Linked DNA regions of Homo sapiens: region 1 is linked to region 2. The links are contacts of gene promoters, found by promoter capture Hi-C in blood cells and fetal thymus (Javierre and others, 2016). All regions are on one chromosome and are shown on one strand. Each heading gives the region's core, a stretch centred on a gene start or on the middle of the fragment in contact. The rest is flanking DNA. Distances are from core to core; before and after follow the strand shown.

Region 1 (6,632 bases), core at 1,764-4,263, 100 kb after region 2:
CTCATCCTTTCGTTAGGGAACTGGGAATTGAAGCTGGAGTGACTGCAGCTACTTATACACCTGGTGCATTGCATCCTCACTTGGCCCATTATCACGCACCTCCTCGACTTCATCACTTACAATTAGGAGCTCTTCCTTTAATGGTAAAATGGAAAATTTTCAAAATTTTGACATGTTCTAAAAGTTCCTTTTCTAAGTATTTTATTGGAAATACTTCACTATATTAATATAGATGTTTTAATAGAATTTGAGAGTAATCTTGTTAGCTAAAATTGTGCTATAAAAAGGTATTAGATGTATTAAAATCTGCACGTATAATTTGCATCATAACATGTACTCTTAATGTACGACATGACAAAAAAGTGTGGGGTTTTTTGTATACCAAGATACTCTTAATCCACTGTCAGGAGTATACTGTGCTTCAGTTATTTTGCCGTAAGTGGTAATAGATCCGTTCTGATGCAGTCATACTTGATTTTCTTTTTTCTTTTTTTTTCGACAGAGTCTCACTCTGTCACCCAGGCTGGAGTGCAGTAGTATGATCTCAGCTCACTGCAACCTCCACCTCCTGGGTTCAAGTGATTCTCCTGCCTCAGCCTCCCAAGTAGCTGGGATTACAGGCACGTGCCACCATGCCTGGCTAATTTTTGTATTTTTAATAGAGATGGGGTTTCACCATTTGGCCAGGCTGGTCTCAAACTCCTGGCCTCAAGTGATCTGCCCACCTTGGCCTCCCAAAGTGCTGGGATTACAGGCTTGAGCCAGGGCACCCAGCCTGATTTTCTAATCTGCAGAAAGATTATACTAATTCTCTACATCTGATTTAAGCAGGTTCAGATTTTGTAAAGTGCTAAAGGACAAGTTCAGCAAAACATACATTGCGTTTGCTGTTTGTATTACATACTTGTTATATAAATGGTACAGAAAAGGGAATAGTTTTGTGTTGTTGTGGGTAGAGGCACTGCAGGAAAGCTTTCAGAGAAGCTTTCTGGTACATGTGACTTCTAAGCAGACTGGATTATGGAATGGTGCTCTTGCAGAGGTTACAGCATGTAAAGATGTAGCAAATAGCACAAGCACTGGGAACTCCAAGTAAGCTGGTGTTTCTAATTTTAGGAGTGAGGGTCAGGCAGCAGTGAGAAATAAAACTGTTCTACCAAGAAACTGGAACTCAGGAACCATTGAAGGGGAAATGTCCTGATCAAATTTATGATTTTAGAGTTATTTAATCAGATTATAGTTAGATCACCTCCTCAGTTATGTGGAAAAATAGATGTAAATGTGGGAAACCAGTTAGGACATTATAGTAGAAGAGGTAAATATTGATGAATGCCTGAATGAAGGCAATTGTAGTTGGCATAAAAATGATGATACACATTTGAGAGATATTTAGGGTTTGGGTGAAGGGGTTAGGTGAGTTAGGTCTTGGATGTACTGAATCTCTATGAAAGTTGAATGTCCAATAGGAAGTTAAGCCTGTGGTCTGGATTTCCAAAGATATTTGGGTTAAAGATATGTTTTGATCTGTCAGTATATGGAGGTAATGAATCCATGGAAGAGGATTAGGTTTTCAGGAAAAATGTGCAGAGTGACAAGAGGGTGAAAAAACCTTAGAGAATGACAATACTGTATTTAAATGATAATACTATGCTTTGAACAAAGGATTCTGAGAACTGGCTTGAAAAGTTGAGAAACACAGTTAAAATAATATCAGAAAATACAGTTACCACTTGAACAATGCAGAGGTTAGGGGTGTTGACCCTCCTCACAGTCGAAAATCAGAGTATAACTTTTGAGTTCCTAAAATCTTAACTACTAATAGTCTATTGTTGATCGGAAGCCTTACTGCTAAAATAAACAGTTGATCAACACATATTCTGTATGTTATAAGTACGTGATAATGATAGTCTACAATAGATAATGATAGTTTACAATAAAGTAGAAAAAAATGTTAAGAAAATTATAAGGAAGGGAAAATACATTTACTATTCGTTAAGTGAAAGTGTATCATTATAAAGGTCTCTTTCCTTATTGTCTTCACATTGAGTAAGCTGAAGAGTAGGAAAAGGAGGGATTCATCTTGCTGTCTCTGGGGTGGCAGAGGTGGCAGAAAATCTACATGTAAGCAGACCCATGCAGTTCAAACCCATTTTATGTTGTTCAAGGGTGAACTGTAATATGGTCAGTATGGTGTCATCACAAAAAAATAAAGTTTGAAAAGTATTGAAAGCATTTGGCAGTAGAGTGGTTATTGGTCTTTTGTGTCAGAATGGTTCAGTAATGGTGAGTGATGTAGATGGGGCACCTCTTAGATTACGTACGGTAAGGAAGTGAAAACATGGAGACAGTGAATATAGCCTTCTTGCTTTATAAGCTTGGCTGTGAAGGGAAAGTGAAGGAAACCCCTATTTGGTTGGCAGTAATTCCAGGATTAGTAGAGAATTTAGGTTTGGAAAAACTTAAGGTATTTTCAGGTTTAAGACAGAAAACCATTAGAGAGGAATTGTTTGAAGATATTGAAGAGAGAGAGGCTTGGTGGGAAGTAGTGAAGTAAGCATGACCCAGGGTGAACAGGTGAAGGGAGGAGTGGGTGATAAGGATTGAGTTCGAATAGGAGAAAAGCTCATCCATAAAGGCTGGAGGAAAGAGACTAGGGAGGAGAGGCTTTTCAGGGTAAGTGAAGATTTAGATAATTTGGGATGCAGGAGTTCCTTTCCGATTTCTTTGAAGATGTTTAGGAGGTTGGGTTATCTGCTGAGTAGTAATGATCTTGGTTATAAGAAAAGTTGTAAACAATTTAAGTAATAGGCTATTGAAGGTTAAAAGTTATTGCTTATTTAAATTCTTTTCCACATATGAAGTGTCCGTTAAAGCTATAAATTCTGCTTAAAGTATGTTGTGATTCAGTGTAGGCTAATTAAAAAGTAATGTCAGAGATTTATTTATAAAGATGGAAGAATGGTGCTGTATCTCAGAAATGCCCTTTCCTAATACTCTCACTATGCATGGCAGTTATGATCTATACAGTTGCTGCAAACACTGAATTAGCAAATATGGGACCCTTGCAAACCTCTGTTCACAACTAATCAGTGTATAACCTTTTTTATGTGTGTTTCTGCTTAAAGACAACTTTAAAAAATATTGTAGAATCATTAACATTGAACTCATAGCCAACAACACTGTAACTCATGCGTGAATGAAACTTATTCTCTCCATAAGGTGTATGACAGCCTTCTTTGCTTAGGAACACTAGACAGCACTTCAGCTCTATGCTTGGGTGCCATTTTAAACAACACAATCACCAACAAAAAGCACAAAACTGTGAAAAACGTGGCACTAAACAGTCTGCAAACAAGACACTGGTTTATAGTAGGAGCTCAAATACGGCAGAGCCCTGTTCTACCTCAGCTGGGAACAGAGTTGCATGTTGGGCAACTGCAATTTTTTGCCACCGGTCATATCCACGAATGACTCTGAAAGCACAAGTGTTGATTATGGGGTTACAAGTAAATTTTAGCCTGTGGGTCAGTTCACACATATGTAATCCATAAATAATGAAGATTGACTGTAACTAACAAAAAATTAGAAAACAGTGTTAAAAGTTTCCCTAATAGAATCAAGCAAAAAAGGCATAGGGTACTTTGGCTGTTAGGAAGCTTAACAGAAGTGAAGTAAAAAACTTATCTTGAAGTCGAATTTTGTTGGAAAATTGTGTGCATTTTTTGTTGTTGTTTTAATAAAGCTCTCTGAAATGGACAGGATCTTAAGACAATTTTACTCTTTTCAAGTTTGAGCTACTAAGAGCCTCAGGCTTAAGTTTGGGCATTTTGGAGAGTTAGGTTATATTTTAACAGAAACCTAAACCTGTTACAGAATGCTTAGTTGGAGTTATGTATTCTTATTGAAGTCAAATTTTATGAGCAGTTGAATTGAAAACATTGAGGGTCTTGAATTATTCAATGTTAACAGTAAATCACAAGTCTATTCTTAAAATTGATTTAGCCTATCTCTTCTGTTGAAATAGGTTCCTGATATGGCAGGCTATCCTCACATCCGTTACATTTCATCAGGATTGGATGGAACATCATTCAGAGGTCCTTTCAGGGGCAATTTTGAGGTATGTAATAAAATAAATGAATATGTTTGTCACAGTATCTTTAATGCAGATTGAGTATATATATACTACTATACACAATTGTGTAGGACTGCTACAGTGGCTGGGAATCACATGTGATTTTCTGATGTTGCTTCTGGGAGTTACAGAAATATTTGTAAGTATTATTAATCTTAGGGTCAAAAGTTACCGAAATATTTAAAGATGAGTAAATGAAAATATCTAATATAGAAGAATATAAAAATGTATTAAATCAATATAAATGTCAGATATATAACTATACCATTAAATGTGGTGGGGAACGGAATGTTTTTGACTCAGCTAAATTTTTAGAGAAATCGGTAGAGAAAAAGAAACTTAAGTAATTCCCTTTGTAGCTAAATGTCTTGTTTGAATTTTCAGGAAGAACAAATCATTCGAATGGGATTTAAAGTTTTGTTGTGGTTTGTTTTTTTGTTTGTTTGTTTGTTTGTTTGTTGTTGTTGTTTTTTTAGATGGAGTCTTGCTCTGTCACCCAGACTGGAGTGCAGTTGCACAATCTCAGCTCACTGCAACCTGCGCCTCCTGGGTTCAAGCAATTCTCCTGCCTCGGCTTCCTGAGTAGCTGGGATTACAGGTGCCCGCCACCACGCCCGGCTAATTTTTGTATTTTTAGTAGAGATAGTGTTTTGCCATGTTGGCCAGGCTGCTCTTGAACTCCTGACCTCAAGTGATCCACCCACCTTGGCCTCCCAAAGTACTGGGATTACAGGCGCAAGCCACCGCACCCGGCCCCCGTTGTGTTTTTTTTATGTCAGTTTGGAAGTTGGAGTCATTGTGACTTAGAACTATTGTTTGATTTGGTTCCTTAATTTACTAGAATTATTTCATCTTCTCCATACATACATACATACTGACTTACATAGTACCATGTGATAATATTGTTGTAATTTATAAAGATAACTTTTGCTGTACCATTTCAGTTGGCTGAGGAAAACATGATAAACAACCATTTGCCTTACTGTCTATGAGAAACATTAAGTCAGGCATGGTGGCTCACACCTGTAATCTCAGCAGTTTAGGAGGCCGAGGTGGGAGGATCACTTGAGGCCAGGAGTTTGAGACCAGCCTGGGCAACATATAAACTGTTTTATATATATACTTATATATAAGTAACCACTTGTCATGTGTAAGTTTTTTTGAACACTGTATTTATATTGCAAGTTTCTAAGTATGGAGGTTTATTTCTTATACAATGTTGACAGTTCTGTTCAAGGAATAATCATCTTGGCTTTTACCAGTCATTATATTCTTCACTTTCAGGAACTGATTCATTTGGAAGAAAGATTAGGCAATGTCAATCGTGGAGCATCCCAGGGGACAATTGAAAGATGTACATATCCACATAAATACAAAAAGGTAAGAATTTATTCTATGAAACTTCTGGAGTGTTACTGAAAGGCATAAATGTAATATATACCTTTTTTGAATTTGTAGACTCTAGCAATGACATTTTTATTGAAGTAATGCATACATATTGTTTAAAAATTTTGGAAAGTATAAAAAATATATACTTTGCAGTTTTTTACTCTGCAGACCCTAGTCCTTCTTCCCAGAAGTGAAATCATAGTTAAGGATTTAGATATTCTTCTAGATATTTTTTAGCATTTTCTAATAATGTGCATATGTATATATATTTTTGTCTACTTTAAAAAAAACACAAAAGGAGATGATTACCACATAGTTTGCAGATTGCCTTTCATGCCAATTAGCTCCCACAGATCACCCTTATTATTTTTAATAGCTTATGCAGAATTCCATCATATGGCAGTACTGTAATTTTTTTAACTAGCAATTTATTTTGACGGACATTTTATTGATGTATGTTTCTTCTACTCTACCCTCAGTTGCTTGTATAGCATTATACAGTTATGGGGTAGACATGTTAAATACGTGTCTTAAACCATGCTCAATACCAACGGTCCCCAACCTTTTTGACACCAGGGACCAGTTTTCATGGAAGACAATTTTTCATGGATAGGTGGCAGAGGGGATAGTTTCAGAATGAAACTATTCCACCTCAGATTATCAGGCATTAGTTAGATTCTCTTAAGGAGCATGCAACCTAGATCCCTCACATGCACAGTTTACAATAGGGTTCACGCTTCTATGAGAATCTATCGCTGCTGCTGATCTGACAGGAGGAAGAGCTCCAGCAGTGATGCTCGCTCACCTGCCACTCACCTCCTGCTGTGCAGCCAGGTACTGGTTTGCAGCCCAGGGGTTGGAGACTCCTTTATACTATGTAAAGAATAATCATAAAGTGTGAAAATTACTATTCTCTGTATTTTTCATCTATTTTCAAAGAGTATTGAGGTATTACCAGTACATTCAAGTTTTCAACTGTCCAAGTTAAATACTGTAACTAATGTTAATTTAAATGGATGTTACTTGAAACATTCACTAATAAAAAAAACTTATTTATGCTCATGGTAGGATAAAAATAGTTTATATTGTTTATCATTCTCATTGTGGATTA
Region 2 (6,630 bases), core at 959-3,458:
ACTGACTCTTTTCCTTCAGCATCCCAACAGGGTTGAAGCCCTCACCCTTTTATTTCATCTGGGGTTTCTCAACTGCATTATTAACATTTTCGGCCAAAGAATTCTTTGTTGTGGAGAGGCCAGCATCCCTAGCCTCTATCCTAGTGGATAGATGCCAGTAGCCACGCCCCTCCTCCCTGAGTTGTAACAAACAGCAATGTCTCCGGATGTTGCTAAATCATCCCAGCTTCAGAACCACTGATTTAACCCAATATATCCAAAATATTATTTCAACATATAATAAATATTAAAAAGTACTGAGATTTTTCAGTCTTTTTTTGTATTGTACCTTTGAAATTCGATGTGTATTTTTCACTTAAAGCACTTCTCAATTATTTTTATTTATTTATTTTTTTAGGGAGACGGAAAAGGAAAAGGGGAGGGGAGAGGGAGAAGAGGAGGGAGTCTAGCCACATTTTAAGTGCTCAGCAGCCACATATGGCTGGTGTCTACCTAATTGAAGAACACAGGTCAAAAGCTTCAGAAAAAAGGTTAGAGCTGGAAATACAGGTTTGAGAAGTCATGAGATAGTAACAGTTAAAATCAAGGGAGAAGATAAGATAGTCCGGGCAAAATTCTATGTTTAAGAGTGAGAAAATAGGAGGATTGAGGAAAATCCTAGTCGAATGCTCTTTTAGTTTTCCCACACAATCTGCTATCCTTGATCATTATTGTAATTTTAAAATCATTTGTGTGTGTGTGTGTGTGTGTGTTTTGTTTGTTTGTTTGTTTGTTTGTTTTGAGACGGAATCTCACTCTGTCGCCCAGGCTGGAGTGCAGTGGCACAATCTCGCACTCACTACAACCTCTGCCTCCCGGGTCCTAGCAATTCTCCTGTGTCAGCCTCCCGAGTAGCTGGGGTTACAGGCGCCCGCCACTACGCCCGGCTAATTTTTTGTATTTTTAGTAGAGACAGCGTTTCACCGTGTTAGCCAGGATGGTCTCCATCTCCTGACCTCATGATCCGCCCGCCTTGGCCTCCAAAAGTGCTGGGATTACAGGCGTGAGCCACCGCGCCCAGCCTTTTTTTTTTTTTTCTTGGAGACGGAGTCTCCCTGTCACCCGGGCTGGGGTGCAATGGCTTGATCATGGCTCACTGCAACCTCGGCCACCCTGGCTCAAGCGATTCTCCTGCCTCAGCCTGCCGAGTAGCTGGGATTACAGGCGTCCGCCACCACGCCCAGCTAGTTTTTGTATTTTTAGTGGAGAAGGAGTTTCACCATGTTGGCCAGGCTGGTCTTGAACTCCTGATCTCAGGTAGTCCACCCGCCTAGGCCTCCCAAAGTGCTGGGATTACAGGCGTGAGCCACCGTGCCCGGCCAAAATCATTTGCTTACTGAATGATACGGAAAATATGAGTGAACAAAAAAAGTATTGAAAAAGATGAGTTGATGGCAAAGGGAGGGAATTAATGTTTAGTGAACACTTAATTGGCAAGTAATGTTCAGAGCATTATATAAATTGTCTCATTTAATCTAACAAGAACCTTTTGAGGTAAATACGTTATCCCAATTTATAGAGGAGGAAACTAAGATTTATAAGGATCTCATCAATCAGAGAACTCTTAAGTGGCACCACTGGACTTTGAAAGGAAGTCTGCCTGATGGACTCTGAAGCTCATCCTCTCTCTATCCTCCTAATGCATATAATGACGCATTTGTTATCTACTGACTTTTATAAAATAAACAAGGAGGCTTATGCGATTGTACAGCCCGAGTTCGCAGGAGATATGTGACCACTTTTGATCTGATTCCGGAAGCAAATTCACTTTAACAGTGAGGTGCCGTGATCTTTATGTCATTAGCGCATATGATATGGGTATCATTTGTTGTGAAAGACACTAACCCATGATGTTTTTGTTTACGTATATCTGTAAATGTATCAATTCTGTAGTTGGTTAATTTTTAGTTACGAAAAAATGAACCAAGATGTAGTCAAGATTTGGCTTAAATGTTGAACGCATAATCACCAAAGAAAATTAAATAATGAGCTTTGTGACACCTTTCAGTTCGCCAACAGACTGATAAAACCAGTACAAAGGGGGAGGGCCGGGACCGAGGGGGCGGGACGGTGAGAAACGGGAATCGAGCAAGCGCAGAAACAAACAGATGTTAATGGAGGCGTGAAGGCTACTGCGCTCTCACTTTCCGAACTGTCGTAAAGAGCCCTAGTGTCGTGCTCTCCTCGGTAGGGGAGGAATTGGTTAGGCGGCGGCGGCGGCGAAGCGGCGGCGGCGGCTGTAGGGGAGCAGCGGCAGTGGCGGCGACGGCGAGGAGGTGTTCGGTTTGCGCAGCGTAGAAACGCCCGCAGCTTCAGAGAAGGAGTTCTTGTGGGACCAAATTAGGCATTCTGAACCCACGCCGGCTTAGCTGGGCCGAGTCCAGGCGCTGCCGCACGTACAGTTTTGGTGGCGGTGACAGACACTGTTCTTGACTCTAGGGGCCTATTAGGCCGACGTCTGAGGCGCAGATCGCTGGCTCTCGACGCATTACTCTTTACGCCTTACATTTCTGTCTTCCTTCCTGGGTCAGTGATTCCCGGACCCTGGAAGAGAAGAGGGTGGCTAATGATTAAGGTGAGGGGAACGGGGGGGGAGGGGATCCATTGGAGGCCGCGCGTGCGCGCAACGGGGGAGGGGCCGGCCTGGAGGGGAGAAAGAGGAAGGGCTGCGGCCGCGGAAGGCTGGGGTCGGTGACCGGCCGGTTATCTCTGGCTCGGTGGTGACTTAGGGTCTGGGTCTCCGCAGACGATTTGTGTTTGGGCAAGGCATTCGTCTACCGACACACCCACAGCCTACAGTGAGGGAGTGTGGGTGAGGGGATTTCTCTCCCACTTCCGACTCTCCCTAGAGTCTCAGGATGGGGGCTGAGGACCGAGGCGTGGGAGTGCGATTTGACAATGGAGTGATGAAGGTAACCCGGACCCGGGGAGTTGGAGGGCGCTAAGTCAGCCCTGACGGCTAGGGAGTCGCCTGCTGCTGCTGTGATCAAGGAAACGTAGTCCGCGGAACAGCTGAAATACAGACGCGTCAGATTTTGTATGGAGTTGGCTTGTTGGTCATTTAAAAAGAAACTGATGTTTTTACTATTGTCCTTCGATAATTTATCAGAGTCAGTGTCAGTGCTATAGTGGGAATATCTGTTCAGTGCAGCAGAAATAGATTTGTTACAACAGTTCTTAAATAGGTTATAGTAGATAGATCTTTACAGATGGGTATTTCTCAACCTAAGTTTTGATTATTCAAAAAATACCAGAAAGTATGAGGTATTCATTTAATTTGTTCGTGTGTGTGTTGTGGGGTGACTCCATTGTGTTGTTGTAAGCTTTCCTGTTTCTTGATTTATGTGCGGCATTAATTTAGAATTCTCTTGAATGGTAAGATGCCAGCTGACATAGACTACGTTTTGTAGGATTTCCTGTAGCTTTTGAATGTGACTTAATCTAAACTTTATTTCATTTGGTATTTTATCTATAATTTTCTTGTTTTAGGGGCCTCTTGAACTAAAAAGAACAAACTGGGAAAAACATAAGCTAAGGTTCCATTTCCTTTCCCATTTTTGTTGTGTGTGTGTGTGATGGTTGTAAATGCTTGAATGTGATTTTGAGATTACCATACACAACTTCTGTAACGCTGGACTTAGCTTTATTACAGTAAAGATACATCTTTTGATAGTTTATTACTATATGTATTTTTGTAAAAATCTTCATGTCAGTATAAGCCACATTGTTTCACCCTAGTCTGGTTATATTTGTGAGGTGAAACAGATGGATAAGAAGGAAGCCCTTTTACTTTTACAATCATTTTAAATTGATTGTTTCTAAAGCCTTGATTTATCTTATTTTGGACACTTTCTTGCCATTTAACCTTGGACAAATGACTTTATCATCTCTCTCCTGCTCATTTGTTTGTGACCAAAGATTCACAACAGTATTCTAAGAATTGGTGAGGGTGTTTATAAATCTAAATAATATTTTAGGAAAAAGTAGGAAGAATGAGTCTCCTTGTTTATCACGGGTGCTATATCATGTGCAGATCCTTCTGTCACTTCTTAACTTTTGTTTGGTGTCTGTTGGCCACTTGTTTGCTAGTTATTTCACCAGACATAGAACTGGTTTTTAAAGAAAGGTATAAACAAAGTGACTTCATTTTGGTGAAAAATGCATTACAGCAGAGGTTACATCTTAACGAATTTCACTTTGGTACTCCATTTCTACAGATTATTGAGAGAGAGCTGTTGTGATGTTTAAGAGAAAAGCACCTTGCTTGTATAAAGCTAAGGTGCAGTCATTTAGCAGATACTCCTAGTTATTTTACTTTAAAATAAAAAATATAAAGGAAACTAATTGAATCAAACCATTTAGATTTTTAGATGTTTCCTTCTTTTTTTTTTTGTTATAGTTTAAAGAGAGGTTTCTGTATCATGCTTTACTTGAGGCATACTTATGTGCCCTTCTTTTGACTTTTTCTCCCCTTTTGGGCCAAGACTTCAGTAGGAAATAAAAGAGACCATCTGAAAAATGATAGCAGTTAAAATATGTTATAACTTGACATTACCGTTCTATGGGTAACGTTATCTTATGAAATAATATAGGGCTAAGGACAGGAGATCTAGATTTTAGATCTATCTTTGCTTGCTATACATTAGATCTCCGAGTTTATTGTTAACCCTCCTTGGGCTTCAGGTCTCTCTGTTTAAATGAGAATTGTAGAATAGATAACTTTCGTTTTCTTTAGGTCCCAAATTTAATGGTTTGTATATCTAGTTAGGTTTTTGGTATTCATTGTTGTGTTTGTCGTAATTGAATCCCCAGAAAGAAATGCTGTACAAAAAGCATCAATTCCCTCATGAAATGTGTATGTGTAAAACCTGTCATGAAGCTGTGGGCCAGGCGTGGTGGCTCACCCCTGTAATCCCAGCACTTTGGGAGGCCAAGGCGGGCGAATCACTTGAGGTGACCAGTCTGGCCAAAATGGTGAAACCCCATCTCTACTGAAAATACAAAAAATTAGCCGAGCTTAGTGGTGTGCGCCTGTAGTCCCAGCTGCCTGGGAAGCTGAGGCAGGAGAATGGCTTGAACCTCGGAGGCGGAGGTTGCAGTAAGCGGAGATCGTGCCACTCACTGCACTCCAGCTTGGGCGACAGAGCGAGACTGTTTCTCAAAACAAACAAACAAAAAAACTATGATTGTTGTTCCACATATTATTGCTATTGTTGTCCCATTGTAGATATTAATTACTGAAGCTTTAATAGCTTTCAGATGGTACTAAAAATGAAATTTTTTATTACTCCTGGTAACATTTTAAAAATCATCTGGAATAATTTGTTTTTCTTTCAGAAACCTGTAATTATTGTTCAGTAAAAGTCCACAATTACATTTGAATGTCTTATACCTCTGTTTGTTTCTTTCCTACATCCTACAGATTCTTGGTAACAGCTGGCCCAGGTTTCTACAGGTACTCAATTTATATCATTACATGAGGAGTGAATTACAAATATTTAAAGACAAATACTTAGCTGAGGCTGGGTGCGCTTGCTCATACCTGTAATCCCAGCACTTTGGGAAGCCGAGGCGGGTAGATCATGAGGTCGGGTTCGAGAGCAGCCAGGCCAACATGGTGAAACCCCGTCTGTACTAAAAAAAAAATACAAAAATTAGCTGGGCATGGTGGTGGCATGCGCCTGTAATCCTGGCTGCTCAAGAGGGTAAGGCAGAATTGCTTGAACCCGGGAGGTGGAGGTTCCACTGAGCTGAGATCTGCACTCCAGCCTGGGTGACAGAGCAAGACTCCATCTTGAAAAAAAACAAAACAACAAAAAAGCCTCCAAATACTTAGCTGAGCTTACATTTTAAAGAGCGGTACTGCATTATTACGTAGATACATTTATTGAATGTCTCATGTTCTAGGCACAGTCACTGGTCTTCAGTGAAGGCACTCTGCCTTCATGGAGCTGACATTCTGTTCTGTGTGTGGGAACATAATAAACAGAATGGTTTCAGGTAGTGGTAAGTGCCATGAGGAAAATAGGACCATGTGATACGGCATGGATGGAAGTGGTTTTACTGTAGATTGAGTGGTTAGGGAGGGCCTTTTTAGAGGTGGTAATTTGACCTGTGACTTCAATGACTAGAAAAAATCAGCCATAGTGACGATTTGGAGGAAGACTGCTACAGATAGCAGGGGCGGCAAATGCATTAGGTGAGGTTTGATTCTAGAGAATCTACAAATGTAAATTAATTATTTGGTTTGTCTGTTAAGCTTTTCATATTTGCTGTCAGATGATGTAGACAGATTAAAATTATTTTATGTGTAGTAACCAAATACAATATGTTGGTGTTGTTTAAACCCTGACTCAAACCAATTGTAGAAAGTCATTTTTGAAACATTGGGGGAAATCTGAATATGGATGGGTATTAGATGATATCAAGGAGTTATTGTAACTTTGTTAGGGATGATAATGGCATTATGTTTATGTAAGAAAATGACCACTTTTTATTAGTGATAGAGACTGAGGAATGAGGGAGAAAACTTGCAAATGTCTGGTATTTTATTTTATTTTATTTTATTTTGAGATGGAGTTTCCCTCGTTG

Evidence for each region. Contacts are between HindIII fragments. The CHiCAGO score rates a contact against its expected background, and 5 or more counts as called.
Region 1: a contact is called between a fragment that was not itself captured here and the fragment with the promoter of RNF111 in region 2, in 5 of 17 cell types (megakaryocytes, erythroblasts, endothelial precursors and 2 more). The highest score is 7.6, in megakaryocytes.

Annotation. Positions count from the first base shown.
Region 1 is chr15:59,085,643-59,092,274 of GRCh38, forward strand. It overlaps RNF111 (ring finger protein 111), which reads left to right. Exons shown (of 14, transcript NM_017610.8): 10 at 17-143; 11 at 4,025-4,117; 12 at 5,417-5,512. Among named protein-coding and RNA genes, the nearest start is that of CCNB2, 16 kb to the right of the region's middle. The HindIII fragment of the contact is 1,282 bases long and covers 2,373-3,654 here.
Region 2 is chr15:58,985,455-58,992,084 of GRCh38, forward strand. It overlaps RNF111 (ring finger protein 111), which reads left to right and starts at 2,209. Exons shown (of 14, transcript NM_017610.8): 1 at 2,209-2,614. RefSeq lists a silencer at 2,928-3,092 and an enhancer at 5,656-6,155. The HindIII fragment of the contact is 2,845 bases long and covers 516-3,360 here.